Linked DNA regions of Homo sapiens: region 2 is linked to region 1. Evidence: promoter capture Hi-C in human tissues and cell types (Jung and others, 2019). All regions are on one chromosome and are shown on one strand. The core of a region is centred on a gene start or on the middle of the fragment in contact, and the rest is flanking DNA. Distances in the headings are between cores, read along the strand shown. Region 1 holds the start of LOXL4 (lysyl oxidase like 4). Region 2 overlaps R3HCC1L (R3H domain and coiled-coil containing 1 like).

Region 1 (5,301 bases), core at 313-2,812:
GTGAGTGATTGGCAGCAGGCAGAGCCCACGTTTCCGAACCCTCTGTGTTGCTTCTGGCTCAGCATGAGAGGTGGCTGGGCCCTAGGAGAGGGCTTAGGCATACCTGGCACCCAAGCCCACAGCTGCCTCATTGTCCCTGGGGGAGGAGCTGGGCTGCTGCCACTGACCCGAGGCTGGGAGCATTCTTTCCTGCTGATTCATCATGGGGAATGTTTTGGGCCCAGCTGGGGTGGGGCAGGGGCACTGGGGGGACATCTTGGACACGGGCAGCCAGGAGTGGATGGCAGGTCCCTGGCAGCAGGGTCATTAAGACCTGGCTGTCACCCAGGATCGAAAAGGTCCATCTTGACATCCTAGCTCTATCACACTCTGCCTGTCCAGGCTTATTCTTACTTGCACATCTGCCTCCCCCACCAGACTGGGAAGGCCCCCTCCAGCGTCTAGCACTCCAGCACCCTGTCTAGCATGTAGGAGAAAATCAATAAAGGCTTGTGGGATGAATGAACCTTTGGAAGGACGTTTAGGCAAGGTGGGGGCAAGAGGGGGAACCAGGTTGGGCAGCTGTGGGCCTAGGGAGGAAACCGGGAGGCTGGAACCCTCTGCCCATTTTACAGATGGGGCCAGTGAGGCTAAGGGCAGGACCAGGTCTAGGGGAAAGAAACTGGGGGCTTGGACTGGGGTTCAGGCACCTAGGTGCTCAGTTCAGCTGATGGGACTCCTCTCTGTCAGCCATGTCCACATTTCTTTAATTCTACAGTCCCTGCTCCCTGCACTAACACCCTCCTCCCGTGAGTCTGACAAGGGCCAGGACTGCATCATTCAGCTCTGTGAAGGGGTTCTCCCATTCACTGTGTATTGCCTGGAGGAGCAAGTTATGTCGCCTGGGGCTCAGTGTTCCCAGCTGCACAATGGGCAGCGCAGAGTTTCACACGGAGGGCGGGGGGGGGGGGGGGGGCGGTATTCAGTAAACTCTGGGTGACTCGCCTGTTCCTGCAGGAGAGCACCGCTGCACCGCGCCACCTCGACCTCTCTGAACTGAGCCCCGGCCTCCCAGAAAGGGCGTCTACATTGTCCTAAGTGACCGAGCTCGTGAGATTCGGCCCCTGTGACAGCCGGGCGCTCCCGTGCGAAGGGTGCTGTGCCGGGGGCCCTGGCACCCACCAGGACTCACAGACTGGGACTCTAGGTGGGCGTCATTACCTTGTTCTGCAAAAGAGGAAACTGCCTGGGAGAGGGACTCCCGAGGCCGCCGCGGCCCTCCCTGCAAAACAGCCGCGGGCCCAGCGCCGCCCTTTCCCGAGAGCTCCGCTCCCCGCGACCCCCCGCCGCCCCCCCGCTCCCCCCGCCCCCCGGGACTTCCCGGCCCCGCCGGCTGCGGCTGGGCGCCCCCGCCACCTGGCCTGTGTCCCGACGGGGGGCGCCGCGCGGAAGGCCGGGCGGGGCGCCCGCGGACTCCAGGCCCGCCCGGGGCGGGGCCTGCGGGGCCTCCTCCGCGGCCAGCTCGGGGCTGGGGGGCCGCGGGCGGGAGGCGGATAAAAAGGCCCCAGGGCGCCCGGGGAGGGAGCCCGTTAGCGCTGCTCCGCCGCGGCGCCCGCCCAGCCCCGGACTGTCCGCGCTCCATCTGGTGAGCCCCCGCCTGGCCGCGCGTCTGCCTCTTGGTCTGCCTCTTGCTGTCCCATCTGTCCTTCTGTCTCTCTGTGAGTCTGCAGGCCTCTGAGGGTTCCTGGAGACTGGGCCTAGGGTGCATGGGGGATCCCTTGGACCCTCAGCCCGGCCCTCCAGTCGCTCACCAACCTGCTTCCAACTGGACAAGTGACCACGCTGGGGAGCTTGGCCCAAGGCCCGCCCTGAGTGGTGCGCCCAGGCCTCAGGGGTGCCTGCGTGTCTTGTTTGTGTACACGCCGTGTGTAACCATTGCTCTGCCTTCTTCCAGGGAGGAGACAGGGAAGGGGCAAGGCGGGTTCAGATGTCACACTTACGACTTGGGGGACAACGAACCAGGGCTGATCTGGGCTCTCCAACTATCCAGACCGGAGCTGATTATGTTGGGGGGTCGGCGTGTGACAGAAACACCGAAGGGAAGGGGGCAGAAGACTTCAAGCCCCCTCTTTCCTAGCCTGGACAGGTACAGCTCAGAGACCATTTGTTGGCACTGCTTCAGGTCCACAGAGTCAGTAACCCCGGGGAGGCTACAGGGCTGAGAGGAGGCTGCTGAGAAGAGCTGCCCAACGGCAGAGAAGGGATGAGCCATCCTAAAGTTGCTGCACCCTCAGGACAGCACCCCCCATGCTCTCTCTTGAATACTCGGGCATTTGCTGTCTTCAGCCCTCCCTACCTGCGCTAGGTCAGGCCAGGTCCCAGCATCTCCTGGCACACCTGGAGCAGGTGCCTCTGTGCCTCAAGCTGGCAAGATCTTGGATCTGTCACTCGGCATTCAGCGAAGAGCACCCTGCCCAGTGCCCTCACACCACGGCCTGGGTCATAAATCCACCAGAACAGGGTGGAATTTCAGTCGGCTCCCGGCCTTCCTTTCCTCCTCCCCCTCTTCCAACATCCATTCTTGGTGGTTTTGAGAGTCCGGCGTCTAGCCAGGCTGCTTGGGTTTGAATCCTGGCTGGGCAAGTTACTTGACTTCCCTGGACCTTACCTTCTCATCTGTAAAATGGAGATAAGTATTTAATCCGTATTTTAAAATGTATAGTTATTATCCTCACTTCCCTCCCCTCCTCTTTCCCTTCCACCTTCCTTCCCTCTTCTGTCCCCTTCTCCTTTATTTGGGAAAGTAACGGCCACTTTCGAGGCCGCTTCCTTCTCTGAGGGAGGATGCACAGCTTGGTCCTCTGTGCTCAGTGCTAGGGGAACAGACAGGTGGAGTCTGGTTGTGGGGTCAGGAAGCAAACACACAATGTGCTTTGTGGAAGGCTTTGTGGGAGGGCTTAATGGAGGGGGTGGCATTTGAGCTGGCCTTGTGGGATGTGTAGGAGTTTAACAGTCTTAGATAGAGGGAAAGGAACAGTGAGAGCAAAGGCTTGGAGGCTGGGAGACGAAGGCTATAGTCTGGTGTGAGCAAAAGCTCTCGGGGGCCTATAGTGGGCAGGAAGGCCAATAAGAGGGACTCTCCCTGCATCTAACTCTTGGTTCCCGCTGCCGTCCCCCCACCTTCCAGCAGCGTTCATGGAAGGGAGCTTCCCTGGCCCAGACCCCAGGGTCCTACAGCAGAAGCCCTCCCATGCCCTCAGGTTGGTCCCTTGGAGAGGAAGGAGCTGCTGGCCTGGGACTGTCCACAGCCTGTAACAAGACCTCCTCAGTGTGTCAGGGACTTCAGCCAGGAGCCAAACAGCAGACCTGCCCAGCCTACCCTGGGCCCCATCAGAGCATGTCGGATAGGGGGGCTGTCTAGTGCCACCCCCTCATTTTACAGGTTTTTCAGCTGAGACTCAGAGAAAGGAAAATATTTGACTCCAGACACAATTTGGCGGCAGAGATAGAAGCATTCCAACTCCTGGGGGTGGTAGAGAAGGTGTGGTTGTCACTCAGCCCAGACCCATGTGACCACTGGGTCCTAATAGCTGAGGGACCTGAGGCCGATCTGTCCCATCCTTTCTTGCCATCTGGGGAGTGGTTTGGCTCAGTCCCTGGCTGTCTACCTCCTACTCCAGGGAGCACGGAGGAGGGAATGGGAAACAATGGAGAGCACTCTGCTCATGGGACAGCCAGCTGGGAGCCCCCACAAGCCTCTGAGTGACATGCAGAAGACAGTGTTTCAGTCTGGAAAGGAAGCGTGGGAGGGGTCAGAGGGGGAGAGCTGCAGAGGTGAGAATGGGAAGGCAGCCCCTGCACAGCCTCAGGGAGTGGAGAGGGGAGCATCTAGGCTCTGCAGTGTGGGTGGAGGGAAAAGGGGCAAATCTAGAGAAGGCTGCAAAGAGGAGTACCAAGGACTTGCAGTTGAGATCGGACGTGGCCTCCATTTCCTTCTTTGTACAGAGAGGAGGTGGGACCAATCTAGACCAACGGTTCTATCGTCGCTGTCACAGTAGCTGTTAATAATAGTTCATTGTTGGCCGATGTAGTGGCTCACGCTGGTAATCCCGTCACTTTGGGAGGCCAAGGCGGGTGGATCACCTGAGGTCAGGAGTTCAAGAACTGATGTGGTGAAACCCTGTCTCTACTAAAAATACAGATAAATTAGCTGGGCATGTTGGCGCATGCCTGTAATCCCAGCTACTTGGGAGGCTAAGGCAAGATAATCACTTGAACCCTGGAGGCGGAGGTTGCAGTGAGTCGAGTTTGTGCCATTGCACTCCAGCCTGGGTGACAAGAGCAAAAATCTGTCTCAAAAATAATAATAATAATAATAATAATAATAATAATAATAATAATAATAGTTCATTGTTACTGAAGGCTTGCTCTTCTAAGGATTTAATGTTTCTTCACTTAATCTTTACAAAAATCCTATGAGGTAGTTACTATTATTATCCCCACTTTACAGAGGGAGACACTGAGGCAGGGAGAAACTAAATCGCTGGCCCAAGATCACTTCCAAATGAACTGGTGGAGGCAGGATTCGAACCCCAGCAGTCTGACCGCCCAGCCTGTGCTCTCAAGCACTGTGCTGCCACCTCCCATCCATGCAACCACAGATATGAATGAGTGCCACCTACACACCTGACACTATTTTGGGAACTGGGGACACAACACATCCCCACTCCCATGGAGCTTCATTCCCAGAACTTGTTTAGTGCACTTTTAGGAGCCCACTCCACCCAGCCCTGCTGGCCAAGGCCGTTGAGAGGGAGTAGGGCAGATGCCATCCATGGAAGTGAGAGTGGCAGGGGCCTGTGAGAGCCTCCCCACTCAAGCGGATGAGCTGCATGATTCCCCAAGAGGAGCCATGGCCGTGGAAGAGGCAGGTCTCATCAGAACGAGCTTTCTTAGCCCATCTTCTCCATCCCCTGTTCCAGGTCGGCCTTAGCTTCCATCGGCAGCAGAGCCTTGGGGTGGAGGAGCTTCAGCTTCGGTGGCTCCAGAGGTCTCTGACAGCTCTAACCAGCTGAGACTCTCTCCTCTATGCCCTTCTCCACCTGCTGGTCCCGGGACCAAGGCTGCTGTGTGAGGGGGAGAGGACCTGCCCCCAGCCTCATCCCCTCTCTAAGGACCCAAAGAACGTCTGATTACAGCCTCCTGGAGACAGGGGCCCTCTCTGTTTACCGCCTGAAACCCTCCCCTGGCCCCTCGCTTCCTACAGGATGAAGGCAAACCCTCTGTGTAGTACACATGGCCCTTGATCATTGGCCCCAGCTC
Region 2 (5,618 bases), core at 670-3,169, 99 kb after region 1:
CAATGAGGGTTAAGTGTTGTGTGCATGCCTATGTGTTTTGGGGAAGGAAGGTGGCCACAAATAATTAAGTGTGGTGACCTATATACTATTGTGCTTCCCATCAAGGTTGCCCATAGGTCATCTGAAAGCTATTCACTATCTTACAGAACAAAATTGGATGAATAGCTGACAATTAGATACCTCTATTCCTTTCTTCTCCTTTCTTTAGTATCTGCCCCAGCCCTACCCAGAAAGTTTTAGAAAGATAATAAGTGAAAGCAGAATCAGAGAGCAAGAGGCTCTATGACTTAACCTAAATGAACAGAGGGTCAATGTGTCCTCTTCATTTCCAAGAATGCCACATTCTGGTCAAATACAGAGCACAACTTCAATGACTGGACTTCACCCTCTGGTGGCCAAAATGTGTCACTACTACATTTCCCAGTTTCTAAGCCACCTGCATACCTATCTTCAAATCTTATAGCTGAAGCCAGGCACAGTGGCTCACGCAGGCAATCCCAGCACTCTGGGAAGCCGAGGTGGGAGTACTGCCTGAGGCCAGGAGTTCAAGACCAGCCTGGGCAACTTAGCAAGACTCTGTCTCTAAAAAATTAAAACAAGATAAAAAATTAGCTGGGAACGGTAGCACATACCTGTAACCCTCACTACTTGGAAGGCTGAGAGGGAGGGAGACTGCTTGAGCCCATGAATTTGAGGGTGCAGTGAACTATGATTGTGACACTGTACTCCAGCCTGGGTGACAGAGCAAGACCCAGTCTCAAAACAAACCAACAAAAAGCTTATAGCTGAAAAGAGCCTTTGAAAATCATCTGGTTGAGGGATTTATCTAAGACTATTAGAGTGGTAGTAACTAAGACCAGAACCCAGATTGTCTATCAACTAAACTAGCAGTTTTACCACCATTATAGCAGTATTATCAGTTTTCCACCGAGTATATGCTCACAATATATGCTGAGCAAAGTTTAATCAGGAAGTTAATTGTGCTGAAGAAATAATCACATAATGCACATCAAATCCAAATATATTATCCACACTAATACTCATTACCATTAAGGATAAATGATCAGGGTGATTTTTCCATCCCATTCCCCCAAAAATGTGCCTCATACACTGGACAAGACTTCTACTGTGACTATTCTTGGCACAAGAAAAAAACTTCAAACAATTCCCAAAAAAAAGCACTCACTCCAAAAAAAAAAAAAAAAAAAGGTTGTGTTAGGTGAGTAATAAGGAATGACAATTCTTCGAGCTGTTAGTTTTACATATTCCCTAAGCTCATATAAAGGCTGATTTATTTGCATTAAGCAAATACATTTTAGAATAACTAGTTTTGTACACTCATTTGCAAAGCTATCTTAAACCAAGACAAAGATTCTTATCTTTCATTTTAAAAAGTCTTTTTATAGTTTCTACTTAGTTAAGAAAGAACTATTAAGCCATGCCCAAGAGAACAATGACATATTTTTCAAAATCTGCCGCGATGAACCATGTCTAATTGTGTTTTCTGTTTCATTACAGTTTAGGCCCTACAAGCAAAAGTGAAGTAGTGGTAGAGCAGTGATTTAGTAGTAGTAGAGGAAGAGAAAGAAGAATAATCAGCTACCATTTACAGAGTGCTTACTACATGACAGGGACTGTGGTAAACATTGTATATACATTATCTCATTTGGTTCCAACTATAGTACTAAGAGATAGCTATGATTATCCCAATTTTATATAGGAGAAATCTGAAGCTTAAATAACTAAAGATCACACAACTTCTAAGTGTTGGTTAGGATTTCAAAGTCCCTGCACTTAACTACTAGACTAGACTGCCTGATATTCAGCAGAATGGTCTCACAATGATGCATTAGTTTCATAAATATTCACAATTTGCTTAGAATCCATGTAACTGCAAAACAACCAAAAAGAGTTCAAAGACTGCTGCCGTAAAAGGAGAAAACCAAGTAAGATAAGAATGAAAGATCTTTAATGCTTTCATGGCATGCCTATTTCCAATAACCTTCCAGACTTAAAAAGGCTGACAATAATTCACTGTTGTCTCTGAAACTTCCTCATTCACCTTGCCTCACCCTCAAAAGCCATATGGTAAAGAACCTCACCAGGTGTCAGGAGAGGAACACCCTCTCTTCTATTCCGCATAAGAATAATCTCTATACTTCTTCCTACCAACTCCTCCAAGCATTTGAAAATGCTGCCCTTCTCTACTTTCCTTCTCCAGAGGCACATTTCAACATGGGACCACCAACCAGTGAAACTGGTAACACAGTTCTCACCCTGGCAGAAGCTCAAAGTAGAATGTAGAGTATACGTTCAAATCTTGGGTCTAAAACAGAAGAAACCTGTACATCAAATACCAACTGCAGATGGTATTTTCAGATGCAATCTTAAACAGAATATAATACAGTATTTTAATATTAGTCTGCCTCTGCCTTGGACATTTATATTTACTGCCTCTGCCTCTCTGCCTGCAGCTGGACAAAGAATACAGCTTGCACAACTGGAAGAAACATTTCATGAAAAAACTGAGTATCAAGACAACAAAAGATACAAGATACATGATTCCAGTAGGATCTTGGAGGTCCCAAAATATATAAATAAACTGGCATGAAAAGGTCTTTCTCACGACATAACACAATTCATGCCCCCAGCTTATTTTATACTACACTGGCTATAGTCGTCATGCATCAGCACCAACTGATTTCACGCTTTATAGGCTGGGAAACAGTCCGCAGCTTAGTCTTTTTCACACTCCACTGACAAGGTAACCACACAGCTCACCGACTTAACTGCTCCAAGTTTAATGTTAGCACCTATTATTGACCACCTCAAAAGGCAGTCAGATAAAAGCTTTAATATACCGAACAATGGCAATATAATATGTAATACAAAGGTAGAGAGAAAAGTTTGCTTCCTACTCTGCATATGTAACTGGCGGTAGGGGGCAGGGAGAGAAGAAAAAAACTCCCTCTTAAAACTTCTTTCCCTCAATACACATCTGGAGGTTGGTCTGCTTCTACAGTTATTTGAAATTAGTTCCTCTCCTGGGTCTATTCTGGGTTTAACTGACATCCTATAGTTGACAATAAAGGAGCTCAAATGGATAAAGCTTTGGGGGCTTTACCTCAACCTTGACATGCATTAAACTTGATTTCTTTTCCTCTTTAAGATTCACAGAGTAAAGCTAATAAACCACTGGGTAAATTTTGAAAGTAGAAGCCACCAGACTCAATCTCAGCTAAGTGTCATATATGTTATCTCATTTTATCCCAACTACAATACTAAGAGGTAGCTATTATTATCCCAACTTTACAGATGAAAAATCTGAAACTTAAGTTACTTAAGATTACACAGTTTCCAAGTGCTGGATAGGATTTCAAAGTCCGTGGATTGGATTTCAAAGTCCCTGCATCTAACTACTACTGTAAGACTAAAACACATATCTTCTAAAAATTATGTTGGGGTAAAAATGCATAGCCCAGAATGCTAGTCTGGCTACAGCCAAAGGTTCATTGTAGCAAAGCTATTTATTTTGTATGTATGTTTGTAAAAATGCATAGCACAGAACAGTTTAATTTTTAAAATACCAAATCACAGTAACAACAAAAATGAATACTTATAAATGAGGTAGAGTCTGTCTGTTAGAGAAATAGCTACAGCTCCGTATCTATCACCTCCCTCCTTGGAGCTATACCAGCAGGTGTGAAATGTGCCTGGTGAGAAACTGAGAAACCAAAAGCAAGTTTCAGGCAAAGAAAACATTAACAAGTTAATAAATTTAAGAGTTTCTCTTCTATGCAGTTTCAAAGTTTATTCATTAGAGTTCCAAGAATAACAAATAATTACAATACAGTAAAATCTTCAAAGCAACGTTACTTTAAGGAACAGAATGCCTGTACACAGGGCTACAGAAGGCTTTCAAGAAGAATCATGTCCTGAACGAACATGGCTCAGGTATTTAAACTGAATTCTTATCTAGTATTCTTATGATACAAAGAGAAAGATAATTGTTAAAGATGGGTAAAAGCTAACAATAGGCAATGGCATTTTTTTTTTACCATCAAATACTTATTAAGTGCACATATTGTATTGACATCACTGCTGGGGTAGTAGAAATTATAAAGTAGGGGTCAGGCGCGGTGGCTCACGCCTGTAATCCCAGCACTTTGGGAGGCTGAGGTGGGCAGATCAGGAGGTCAGGAGATCGAGACCATCCTGGCTAACACGGTGAAACCCCATTTCTACTAAAAATACAAAAAATTAGCCAGGCATGGTGGCACGCACCTGTAGTCCCAGCTACTCGGGAGGCTGAGGCAGGAGAATCGCTTGAACCTGGGAGGCAGAAGTTGCAGTAAGCCGAGAGAGTAAAAATGAAGCTTCCCCTTAAGATGTCTCTACCTAATTGGAAAGATTGTTTTAATGTTGTTTTAAGGGAATATATGTCTCTAACTACCAAATAAAGAGAAAAGCAGTAAATGATAGAAACCAGAGGAGAAAAATATCACTAAGGGCTTGGAATGGGTGAGGAAAATGTCATAAAGTGGGTGGAACTGAGGCTAGGCCTTTAGAAACAGATTTAGAAGTTCAGACACAGAACTGAGGGGAGATATTACAAGTGGAAAGAATAGACTCAACATGTGAAGACGCAAAAAGTCAGAGTGTTATTTTGGAGACTTACAGAAACTGGTTGTCTTAGTTCATGCTGCTATAACAAAGTACCACAGACTGGGTGGCTTAAAAACAACAAAAATTTCTCACAATTCTAATAGCTAGAAGTCCAAGATCAGGGTGCCAGCATGGCCTGGTTCCGGAGCAGGCCCTCTTCCAGGTTGCAGTAGGTTGATTTCCCATTGTATTCTCATACAGCAGAAACAGAGCAAGCTAGCTCCCTGGCTTCTTCTTGGTTTGTTTGTTTGATTTTTGAGACAGAGTTTTCACTCTTGCTGCCCAGACTGCAGTGCAATGGTACAGTCCTAGCTCACTGCAACCTCCACCTCCGGGTTCAAGTGATTCTCCTGCCTCAGCTTCCCAAGCAGCTGGGATTACAGGCATGTGCCACCAGGCCAGCTAATTTTTTGTATTTAGTAGAGATGGGGTTTCACCATGTTGGTCAGGCTGGTTTCGAACTCCTGACCTCAGGTGAGCCACCCGCCTTGGCCTCCCAAAGTGCTGGGATTACAGGCATGAGCCATCGCACCTGGTCCCTGGCTTCTTCCTATAGGGGAAGCCATGTCATTCATGAGGGCTCCACCTTCATGACTAAATTACATCCCAAAGGCCCCACCTCCAACACCATCACATTGGGGACCAGATTTCAACATATGAGTTTAGGGGGAACACAAACATTCAGTCCCCAATATTAGTCTGGCTACAGCCAAAGGTTCATTGTAGCAAAGCTATTTACTTTGTATAACTATTCTCATACTGAAAGAAAGAACTGAACCATAACTTGCCCACATTAAATTCCACTCCACAATCCAAATAATATCCAGAAATTCTTGTCTTTGATGTCTGACAATGCTTGCTATAAAAACAGTAACAGCGGATAGCATACGTATCAAATCAATCCAATAAATAAATAACAAGATGTACATTTGTCTGAGATAAAGGCCTAGCCA

The links. The method cuts DNA at HindIII sites, captures the fragments that hold promoters and counts their contacts. A contact is called where the count stands out against the background at its distance.
Region 2: a fragment that was not itself captured here is called in contact with the fragment with the promoter of LOXL4 in region 1 in 2 of the 25 tissues and cell types used here (liver and mesenchymal stem cells).

The regions. Positions count from the first base shown.
Region 1 is chr10:98,264,455-98,269,755 of GRCh38, reverse strand. It overlaps LOXL4 (lysyl oxidase like 4), which reads left to right and starts at 1,562. Exons shown (of 15, transcript NM_032211.7): 1 at 1,562-1,624. LOC124902489 (a long non-coding RNA gene) reads right to left here and starts at 1,314. Exons shown (of 2, transcript XR_007062260.1): 1 at 1-1,314. RefSeq lists enhancers at 1,615-2,114, 2,115-2,616. The HindIII fragment of the contact is 18,964 bases long and covers 1-5,301 here.
Region 2 is chr10:98,165,475-98,171,092 of GRCh38, reverse strand. All of the region lies in intron 4 of R3HCC1L (R3H domain and coiled-coil containing 1 like), which reads right to left. Among named protein-coding and RNA genes, the nearest start is that of R3HCC1L, 34 kb to the right of the region's middle. RefSeq lists an enhancer at 442-491. The HindIII fragment of the contact is 3,649 bases long and covers 95-3,743 here.